Regions from separate parts of the Homo sapiens genome. Here all the other regions are linked to region 1. Evidence: promoter capture Hi-C in 16 types of primary human blood cells and fetal thymus (Javierre and others, 2016). All regions are on one chromosome and are shown on one strand. Each heading gives the region's core, a stretch centred on a gene start or on the middle of the fragment in contact. The rest is flanking DNA. Distances are from core to core; before and after follow the strand shown. Region 1 holds the start of AKAP8L (A-kinase anchoring protein 8 like). Region 2 holds the start of ILVBL-AS1 (ILVBL antisense RNA 1). Region 3 has its middle 23 kb from the start of MIR6795.

Region 1 (2,832 bases), core at 93-2,592:
GGTAGAGGGGACTGGCACTACCTTCTTGCCTATGCCAACATAAAGTGGTCTACAAAGGAGCCCCACAGACTCACGTTGCATTCTCAGTTCTCAAAATTCCAAGTAGAATGCAGGTTACCTGGCAACCACACACGCTCAAGCCTATAATACCCTCACCAAACAGGGAGGCCTAGTGTAAGTCTCCTGGCCGAGAAGCCTCATCAGTCACTGCCAAGGCAAACCCAGGAGGCCTTGGCAATTCACCCAGTGATGATTTACAGTCGCCCAAGCATATTGCGGGGGGCGGAGAGGGGCTCTCGGATCTGTCACCCACTCTCCCTTTCAAATCCCATTGGCCTCCCACTGGCCTCCCTGGCTGATCTTCTAACAAGCCAGGCAGTTCCTGCCCGTAAGCCTTTTACAGCAAAAGCTCCCTGGGCCAGATATCTTTATTCGCTCCCTCCATTTAGGTCTCTGCTCAAATGTCACCTCTTTACAGAAGGCTCCAACCACTCCACGTAGTGGAGCGACCCCCGCACGGTACTGACCACCCTAAAATATATCCTACACTCGCTTATTTGCCTATTAAGATCCTCGCCTCTAAGCTGCTTGAGGAATTCTTGTCTGTATTCCCAATACCCAGTCTGTACCGGACACGGTTCATTTGACAGACGCAGAGGGAATTAACATGGAACCTTGTCATTCCTTGCAGTTCAGCCCCTAGGGGCCCAAGGCTCCCCGCTCAGCCCAAACCCTTCCAATATTTACTTATCCCCCTAGGGCCTGGCGCCTTTCCCAGTTCTGAAATAGACAAAAGGGGGTGGTGGGTGGGATCGGGATGGGGGTGTAGAGCTGCGGCGTTTTTGCAGAGAAACTGCGCGGGGGAGGACGCGACAATGGCGACGGCAGCCGAGCCTGCTGCCTGCTCGCAAGGACCAAGGCCTGAGAAAGGGAAACCTAAGGCGTCGAGGTCCAGGAGCGCAGGCCAGGGACGGAGGTGGTGGGGGCGGAGACCTCGTGCGCTGAGGCCCGGACCCACGGACACAGGCGACAGAAGCCAAGACATCAGGCGGCCGGGAGCCGGGACGCCGGCTGCAGACACAGAGAGCTGAGGCAACGAGGCGTGAGGGCAGCGACCCTGAGGCGACGGGCCAGCGGCGCCATTTTGTGACCGCAGGGAAGGCAGTGACGGGGCCCCAGGGGAGGTGCGGGCAAGCCTGGTGCGGCATCCGCACGTCCCTGTCCCATCCCCCACGCAGAGCCCGACCCCACCCTGCCAGGCCCACCTGTGTAGCTCATGGTGGCGGGCAACACAACATCCGACGACGCCGGCTTCTGCTGCTCTGAACATCCGACGCTGCGATAGCTGCTGCTAACCACAGGGTCCCCTCCACACACACCCGAGCCCCGCCTCCCGACCGCATTGGCTCATACCGGCCTCGGCTTCACGTCTATTGGAAGGAACCGCTGTCTATCTCTATGCCTCCTCATATCAGTGGCTGGAAGCTGCTGGCAATCTCGTGAGAGCCCCGCCTTGTCCCCGCCTTCTGTTATTCTAAGGCCTCAGTGATTGGCCTACAGAAGCCGGCAGAGAGGCGGAGTCCTATAGAATTTGAGGGGGCGGAGCTGTGCACTACGGAAAGGCCCAAGGCCCAAGCATGGTCGGGCTGGAGGAGCGCCCGTACCCTGGAGACCCGCCAGAGGGAGTCGGGTCTACGGCTCAGGGCAGGGCTGGGATGCCAACTCCGCCACCGAGGTGCTGGGTAGGGGACCTAGCTAAGTCTCTCAAATTCTCTGGCCTTCGGCTCCAAAACAAGCATAGCAAAGCCATGTTGAGAAGAGAAAATTAAAACAGCACCAAACAAGATGCTGGACACACGTTTCAACATTACGTGACAAAGTGTGTGTAAAGAAATCATTCTGGTGCCAGTGCACTGAATAAATGTGATTAATCGTAACAAAACGATAATATATTTATATGGCATATGCTTATATGTGTAATAATTCCGTTTGTATTGTGTGTCATTCGAATGCTCCTTCAAACCTGCAAAAAGCTTTTAATCCTCACTTAAAACTGAAGCTTGGAACTCATGATTTGCTCAAGGTCCTTGACAGTTACGTGTTAAAATGGGAGCTTTGCTTCTAAAACCCTCCTGATTCACTCTGGGCTCGAGAGATCCTGCAATAGTGCAGCCGGGCACCAGTCATGTCCTCAGTCTGTTTCCTGGGCATATGGAAACCCTGCCAGGGACAACTCATAATTTCTAGAGATGACAGAGCTGCACCGAAGAGTACTTAACACGTGTGTTTGTGAAAACTCATTAAGCTGCGCAATTACGACTTCTACGCTTCGTGTGTTTTAAAACTTTTTTTAAGGTATGCTGTTTCTTTTTGATATTGTTGATTTCTTTAGGTGTAATAGTGGCATTTACAACGTTGAGAGAAACATACTGAAATACTAAGAAGTTAACTGATCTTATGGCCAGGATGTGCTTCACACAATTCAGACAGGTAGAGAGAGGAGGAGGAAGCAAGGAGCTATAAGATAAATCTCTGACAGCTGAAGACATTGGTCATGGGTTGGTGATGGATAGATGAGAGTCCATTTTACTGTTTGCTCTACTTTTGTATAGTTGGAATTCTCCATGATAAACTGTTTTAATAAAACTCCCCCCACCCAAATGAGGCTTCTGCAGAACTTGCTGCCATACGGAACAAAGCCACTTCTGATGTGTTAAGTGAGCAAACTCCAAACATGAAGCAGAGATCTGACGGATAAGCACTCTGGCTTCGGGGTTCATCTCCCCATCAGCCTCAGGGATGCCTGCCTGTCTTCCAAACCAAGGCAGGGCC
Region 2 (2,832 bases), core at 333-2,832, 290 kb before region 1:
AGAGATGATGGAGGAGGAGAAGAAAGGGAAAAGGAGGAGGAGGAGGGCTGTCCTGAGCCTCTCCCCTTTGCTGCCTCCACGAGGGCCGCCTTGCTTTCCCTACCCACCCAGTTCATTCCTGCCTCAGGACCTTTGCACATGCTGTTCCTTCTACCTGGAATGCTCTCCCCCCAGCTGTCTCCTCCCAGTCCACATGTGAATCAAAGGAGGATGGGTGTGGGCTGGAAGCTGCAGGAGAGAACGGGGGATAAAGGAGGGAATGGCAGGGGTGGGGCTATTCACCAGGAGACCACTCGGCCCACGAGGCCCTTGGGTGGCTTGGCTGGCACCATCTCCTTCTGGACCATGAAGTAGGGGTACAGCACGTCAACGGGCAGCTCCACAAACACCGGACCTGCAGGGACAGGGAGGACGCTGAGTCCATAACATGTCCCCAGCCCCTCGGCCCCAGCACTGCTCAGCATCACCATCCTCCACCTACCTGGGGTGCCCGACTGGGCGGCAGCCATCGCGGCCCTCAGGGTGGGCACAATGTCCCGCACCCTCCGCACAGACACACAAAACTTACAGAGTGGCCGGAAAAGGGACAGCTGATCAACAGCCTGGAGCGCACCCCGGTTCTGGCAAAGACAGAGGTGTGGCAGGGTTATCGCATGAGCCCTTCAAGCCCCCCTAGGCCCCCACTGGCCCCCAAGGACTGGGTACCTGCAGCAGAGTGCTGGCAGCCCCACCCAGAAGCAGGATTGGGGACTGAGCCATCTGAGCATTCTTCACCGCAGTCACCGTGTTGGTGAGGCCAGGGCCTGCTGTCACTGCCGCCACGCCCACCGTCCCTGGAACACAGAGCCCATCACAGCCATGCCCACTCTCTTGGCCATTCTTCCACCTCTGAAAAACCCCTACCCTCACAGACACTCTAGCCCACAGTCCAACCAGTCCCCAGCCCTCTCTGCAATGCCCTCACCGGACAGGCGGGCCATAGCATCAGCAGCAAAGACGGCCGTGACCTCATGGCGTGTGTCCACCACACGGATGCCCAGTTTCTCACAGGCCACCAGCAGCGGGGAAATGTGCCCACCGACCAGCGTGAAGATGAACCGCACACCATGGGCCCTCAGCACAGCGGCCACGTTCTCTCCGCCATGCCGGACGCTTGCCTTGTCCACCTGGGCCCAAGGACAGGTGGAGCAATAAAGTTAAAGGCCAGGGCAGAGGGCAGCTGGGAAAGGGGGCAATCCCCCTGCCCCAGGTAAGGGGGCAGGAGCAGGGTGAGAGGTCAAGAGAAGCTTGGTCTTGGTTAGGCATATATTATACTACATGCCAGGCTCAAACCAAGGCATAACATCTTATCAGATCCTCTTGTCATTACATCCCTCTTACAGCTGAGGACATCAAGGCTTGCCCAAGTAAGACTGAAAGTTCAATAGAACCCACGCTCTTAAGTGCCCCACTGTTACACTGCCTGTCTCCAGGATGGCAGGGCAATCAGGGAGAGAGGAGAGGGTTATATAACCCAGGGGGTTTGGCCAGGGGCACAACGCACGCAGAGCAGATGGCAGGGAGCCATCTGCTGTGACTCCTCCCTGCCCTCCAGTATCCTTGCAGAGCCTGGCAGCTGGGCTCCTGATCCCAGCCTCCCTGATGCCCTCCTGATGGACGCTAAACAGGCCCAGGGCTTAGTTGACAGGCTGCCAGCCACCATGTGCCTGGCACGGGAGTGAGCTGCTGGCACAGACTGTGCCGAGGCCTCCCAACTCCAGCTGCCTCACAGCCCTACACATCCAAGGCTTGCTTTAAATCTCCTAAGTCCTGAAGGTCAGTGGCATCACTCCTGGCTAGCAGAGGAAGCAGTAGAGAAGGGTTTGGGGAGGGAGAGGTCAAGCTTGGTCCCTGCTAGGAGAGAAAGGGTTGAGGAAGGGGTCTGGAGAAGGGGTAAATTTCAAACAGAGGTGCAAGGAGTTTAGGGGGACACCTGTGGGGTCAGCTCTCTCCAAACATGTCACCTAGGGCAAACCACCACACAATCTCTCTGAGCCTCAGCTTCCTCTTGCAGAAAATGAAGACAGAAAGAACAGCACCTACTTTCAAGGAAAAGGTAAGGGGTAGGTAAGAAAGTCTACAGTACTGAGCTCAGCAGAGGGCAACTGTTATGAAACTGTCACTGCCACCCCCTCGCTGGAGCCTGCCCTCTGCCCCATTTATCCCATCCAGGTTAGGGAGCACAGAGTGCTGTCCATCTGTTCTGTGAAAAGAGTCACTGGGGAAGGAGGTAGGTGGGGTGCGAGTGCCCCGGCAGCGGCAGCTTCCGTGTTCTCTCTTACCAGTGGCAAAGTCCAGGCCTCCATACACAGCGTGGCAATGGAGACAGGGCCCTGGACAGAACCTCTTACCAGTCCCTCTGGACTAGTCGGGGCTCGCTTTCCCACCCTGCACAATGAGTGAGCTGGAAGCAGCACCACGAGGCCCCTCCCTCTTTGACTGCCCCCAGCCCACCTCCCATTCTGTGCCCCGCACCTTGTGCAGCAGCTGATAGAAGAGCCCCAGGCGGTGAGCGGCGCCCAGCAAGGCGGCCACCAGCGTCCCGCAGGCCAGGAGCAGGAAGGAGGGGAATAAGCTCCCAGCGGGGGCGGCGGCCGCGGGGGTCTCCATGAGGTGGTACCTAAGAGAGAAAGGGCACTTCCCAGACTTGGGCGCGACAGGGAACCTCTCCGGAAGAAATCGCGCCCCTTCTCGCAGCAGGATCCAGGGCCACGACCCTTGCCGCCAGTTTCTGTGCGGCCACGCCCCCAACCCTGCCAGACCACGCCCTTTGTGCGCCTAGGCTCGGGGTGA
Region 3 (2,832 bases), core at 137-2,636, 260 kb before region 1:
CTCCATAAAGAATGAAAAAGCTAGAAAAAATTGTTAGACTAAATTTTTGGGAATTCTAGAAATTAACTAAAGTCTTGCAGCAACTCAGAGAAAATGTATTCAGAAAATTACTGAATATCAGTGAGAACAGCATACTCGGCATTTTAACATCTCTGGTCTTCTCCCCCACTCTCCAGCTCCGTGGTCGTCTTGAAAAATACCAGCCCAAACTCTGGTGCAGCCTGGCATCCACCAGAGAGAGCAAAACAGAACTAGAGCACTTTCAAGCCTCATTCCCAAAGAATTGTCATTATTTTTTAAATTTTATTTATTTATTTATTTATTTATTGAGATGGAGTCTCTCTCTCTCTGTCGCCCAGGCTGGAGTGCGGTGGTGCAATCTCAGCTCACTGCAACCTCCGCCTCCCAGGTTCAAGCAATTCTCCTGCCTCAGCCTCCCAAGTAGCTGGAATTACAGGCATGCACCACCACGCCTGGCTAATTTTTGTATTTTTAGTAGAGACAGCGTTTTACCATGTTGGCCAAGCTGGTCTCAAACTCCCGACCTCAAATGATCTGCCCACCTCGGCCTCCCGAAGTGCTGGGATTACAGGTGTGAGCCACCACACCCGGCCAAGAATTGTCATTATTTACCAAGCTAATGGTTCCCTGCAAGATCCCACTGGCAAAGCTCTCTGTATTTGACCTGGCTCTGAGATAAACCATGCAAAAAGCCTTCACTCTGGGGGTCCTTTGTTGACAACAGCTACAGGAAGGTATTTTAGCTTCATGGATGCCTGAGGCAGTGAGTGACAGTTGAGACAAATAGACTAAACCAAAAGCTAGGGAAGGAGCTGTCTATAGAGGCTTTGAAAGGCTCAGATAAGGCTGGGTGCAGTGGCTTATGCCTGTAATCCCGGCACATTGGCAGGCCAAGGAGGGTGGATCACGAGGTCAGTAGTTCAAGACCAGCCTGCCAACATGGTGACCCTGTCTCTACTTAAAAATACAAAAATTAGGCCAGGCTCAGTGGCTCATGCCTGTAATCCCAGCACTTTGGGAGGCTAAGGCAGGCAGATCACCTGAGGTCGGGAGTTCGAGACCAGGCTGACCAACATGAAGAAACCCCATCTCTACTAAAAATACAAAAATTAGCCAGGCGTAGTGGTGCATGCCTGTAATCCCAGCTACTCAGGAGGTTAAGGCAGGAGAATTGCTTGAACCCAGGAAGCGGAGGTTGCAGTGAGCCAAGATCACGCCATTGCATTCCAGCCTGGGCAACAAGAGTGAAACTCCATCTCAAAAAAAAAAAAAAAAAAAAAGAGAAGAGGCCGGGCACAGTGGCTCACGCCTGTAATCCCAGCACTTTGGGAGGCCAAGGCGGGCGGATCACGAGGTCAGGAGATCGAGACCATCCTGGCTAACATGGTGAAACCCCATCTCTACTAAAAATACAAAAAATTAGCCAGGCGCGGTGGTGGACGCCTGTAGTCCCAGCCACTTGGGAGGCTGAGGCAGGAGAATGGCATGAACCCGGGAGGCAGAGTTTGCAGTGAGCCGAGATCTCGCCACTCCACTCCAGCCTGGGAAATAGAGCAAAACTCCGTCTCAAAAAAAAAAGAAGAAGAAAGATTGGTAGATGGATGGAGAGAAAGATATATAAATGATAGATGATAGAAAAATAGAAAGATTCATAGATATAAATAGACAACAGAGGACAGAGAAGCATAAGATAGATATAGACGGATGAAAGATAAACGATAGATGATAGACATAGATAGATAATAAATAAATGATTGACATTCTAGACAGATGAGGCATGCGCAGAATGTAGGCAAGGAATGTTACTATACCTTGGGGCTCACAATGGTGGAGAGCCTTTATCGCTTCTATGCCAAAAGGGCCAAGCAGAGGAAACAATAACCCAGACCCACAGAGGGTAGGTAGCTGGAGGGAGAGCACTGCAGGTACCCTGCAGGCAGGGAGCCAGGGAGACAAATACATTCCACCCTCTAATCCCTCACCTGTGTCTCTCATTGGCCAAACCCAAGTGGAAGCCAGAGAGTAAGGAAACCCATTGATGCCATCTACCTGGGTCATTCTCCCAGAGCACAGAGAAGAGTTGAGGAAGATCAGTGCAGATCTGGAGGCAAAAAGCAGACACTCAGCTGTTTTATCATTGTCCTTTCAGTCAAAAAACCAACTAGGATGTCAATTCCAAAGTCCCCAACCCTTCCCAACTTCAGCATGCCAATGAAATCACATACATATGAATCCTTGAATCTCATTAGTTAATTTTCCTCCATCACCAGTGCAGGCTTCCTAGTCCTCAACCTAACATCCTTTCTGCAATCATTCCAGGGAGCTCCCAGTGTGGGTGAGTCTCACATGTGCTTACAAATAAGTCAGCTCCACCAGGTACGAAAGTGGGTTCCCGCTGTGGGACACTCTTCTTCAATATTCTGTTGACATGAAGCCAAGGTTGCATGATAGAGTGGACAAAATGGGTAGGGAGAAGGACTTTCTCCTCATTTGTACAGCACTTGGGAAGAAGAATACCCAAACTTGCTTAAGCCCCAGTAGATATTTTATTTTTTATTCCCAAGAATCTACTCATGCATAAAGCTAAGATGGACTTCTCTTGGGCCAATGATTCAAGTGCAAGGAATTTATTCGCAAGATCATTCCAGAAAGCTCTAGTAGGAGTGAGGAAGAGTAGGTTGCTGCTGTGGGCAACTGGGGCTTAATCCCAAAGAGCATCCTTTGGGAGACTCTGTGGATCATATCCATGAATTCCCACAGAGAGTGGCGAGGAAGCTGGGGTATTTATCCACCATCTCTCATTCATCCCTC

The links. Contacts are between HindIII fragments. The CHiCAGO score rates a contact against its expected background, and 5 or more counts as called.
Region 2: a fragment that was not itself captured here is called in contact with the fragment with the promoter of AKAP8L in region 1 in 1 of 17 cell types (naive CD4 T cells); the score reaches 5.5 in naive CD4 T cells.
Region 3: a contact is called between a fragment that was not itself captured here and the fragment with the promoter of AKAP8L in region 1, in 1 of 17 cell types (M2 macrophages). The highest score is 5.7, in M2 macrophages.

What each region holds. Positions count from the first base shown.
Region 1 is chr19:15,417,646-15,420,477 of GRCh38, forward strand. It overlaps AKAP8L (A-kinase anchoring protein 8 like), which reads right to left and starts at 1,343. Exons shown (of 14, transcript NM_014371.4): 1 at 1,266-1,343. The coding sequence starts at 1,278. It overlaps WIZ (WIZ zinc finger), which reads right to left. Exons shown (of 13, transcript NM_001371589.1): 13 at 2,333-2,832. The HindIII fragment of the contact is 13,658 bases long and covers 1-2,031 here.
Region 2 is chr19:15,122,411-15,125,242 of GRCh38, forward strand. It overlaps HACL2 (2-hydroxyacyl-CoA lyase 2), which reads right to left. Exons shown (of 16, transcript NM_006844.5): 2 at 2,515-2,659; 3 at 965-1,166; 4 at 706-833; 5 at 482-620; 6 at 283-394. The coding sequence starts at 2,649. It overlaps ILVBL-AS1 (ILVBL antisense RNA 1), which reads left to right and starts at 1,750. Exons shown (of 3, transcript NR_186314.1): 1 at 1,750-1,815; 2 at 2,054-2,095. RefSeq lists an enhancer at 2,116-2,832 and a silencer at 2,830-2,832. The HindIII fragment of the contact is 596 bases long and covers 1,285-1,880 here.
Region 3 is chr19:15,154,735-15,157,566 of GRCh38, forward strand. No RefSeq gene overlaps it. Among named protein-coding and RNA genes, the nearest start is that of MIR6795, 23 kb to the right of the region's middle. The HindIII fragment of the contact is 3,609 bases long and covers 1-2,832 here.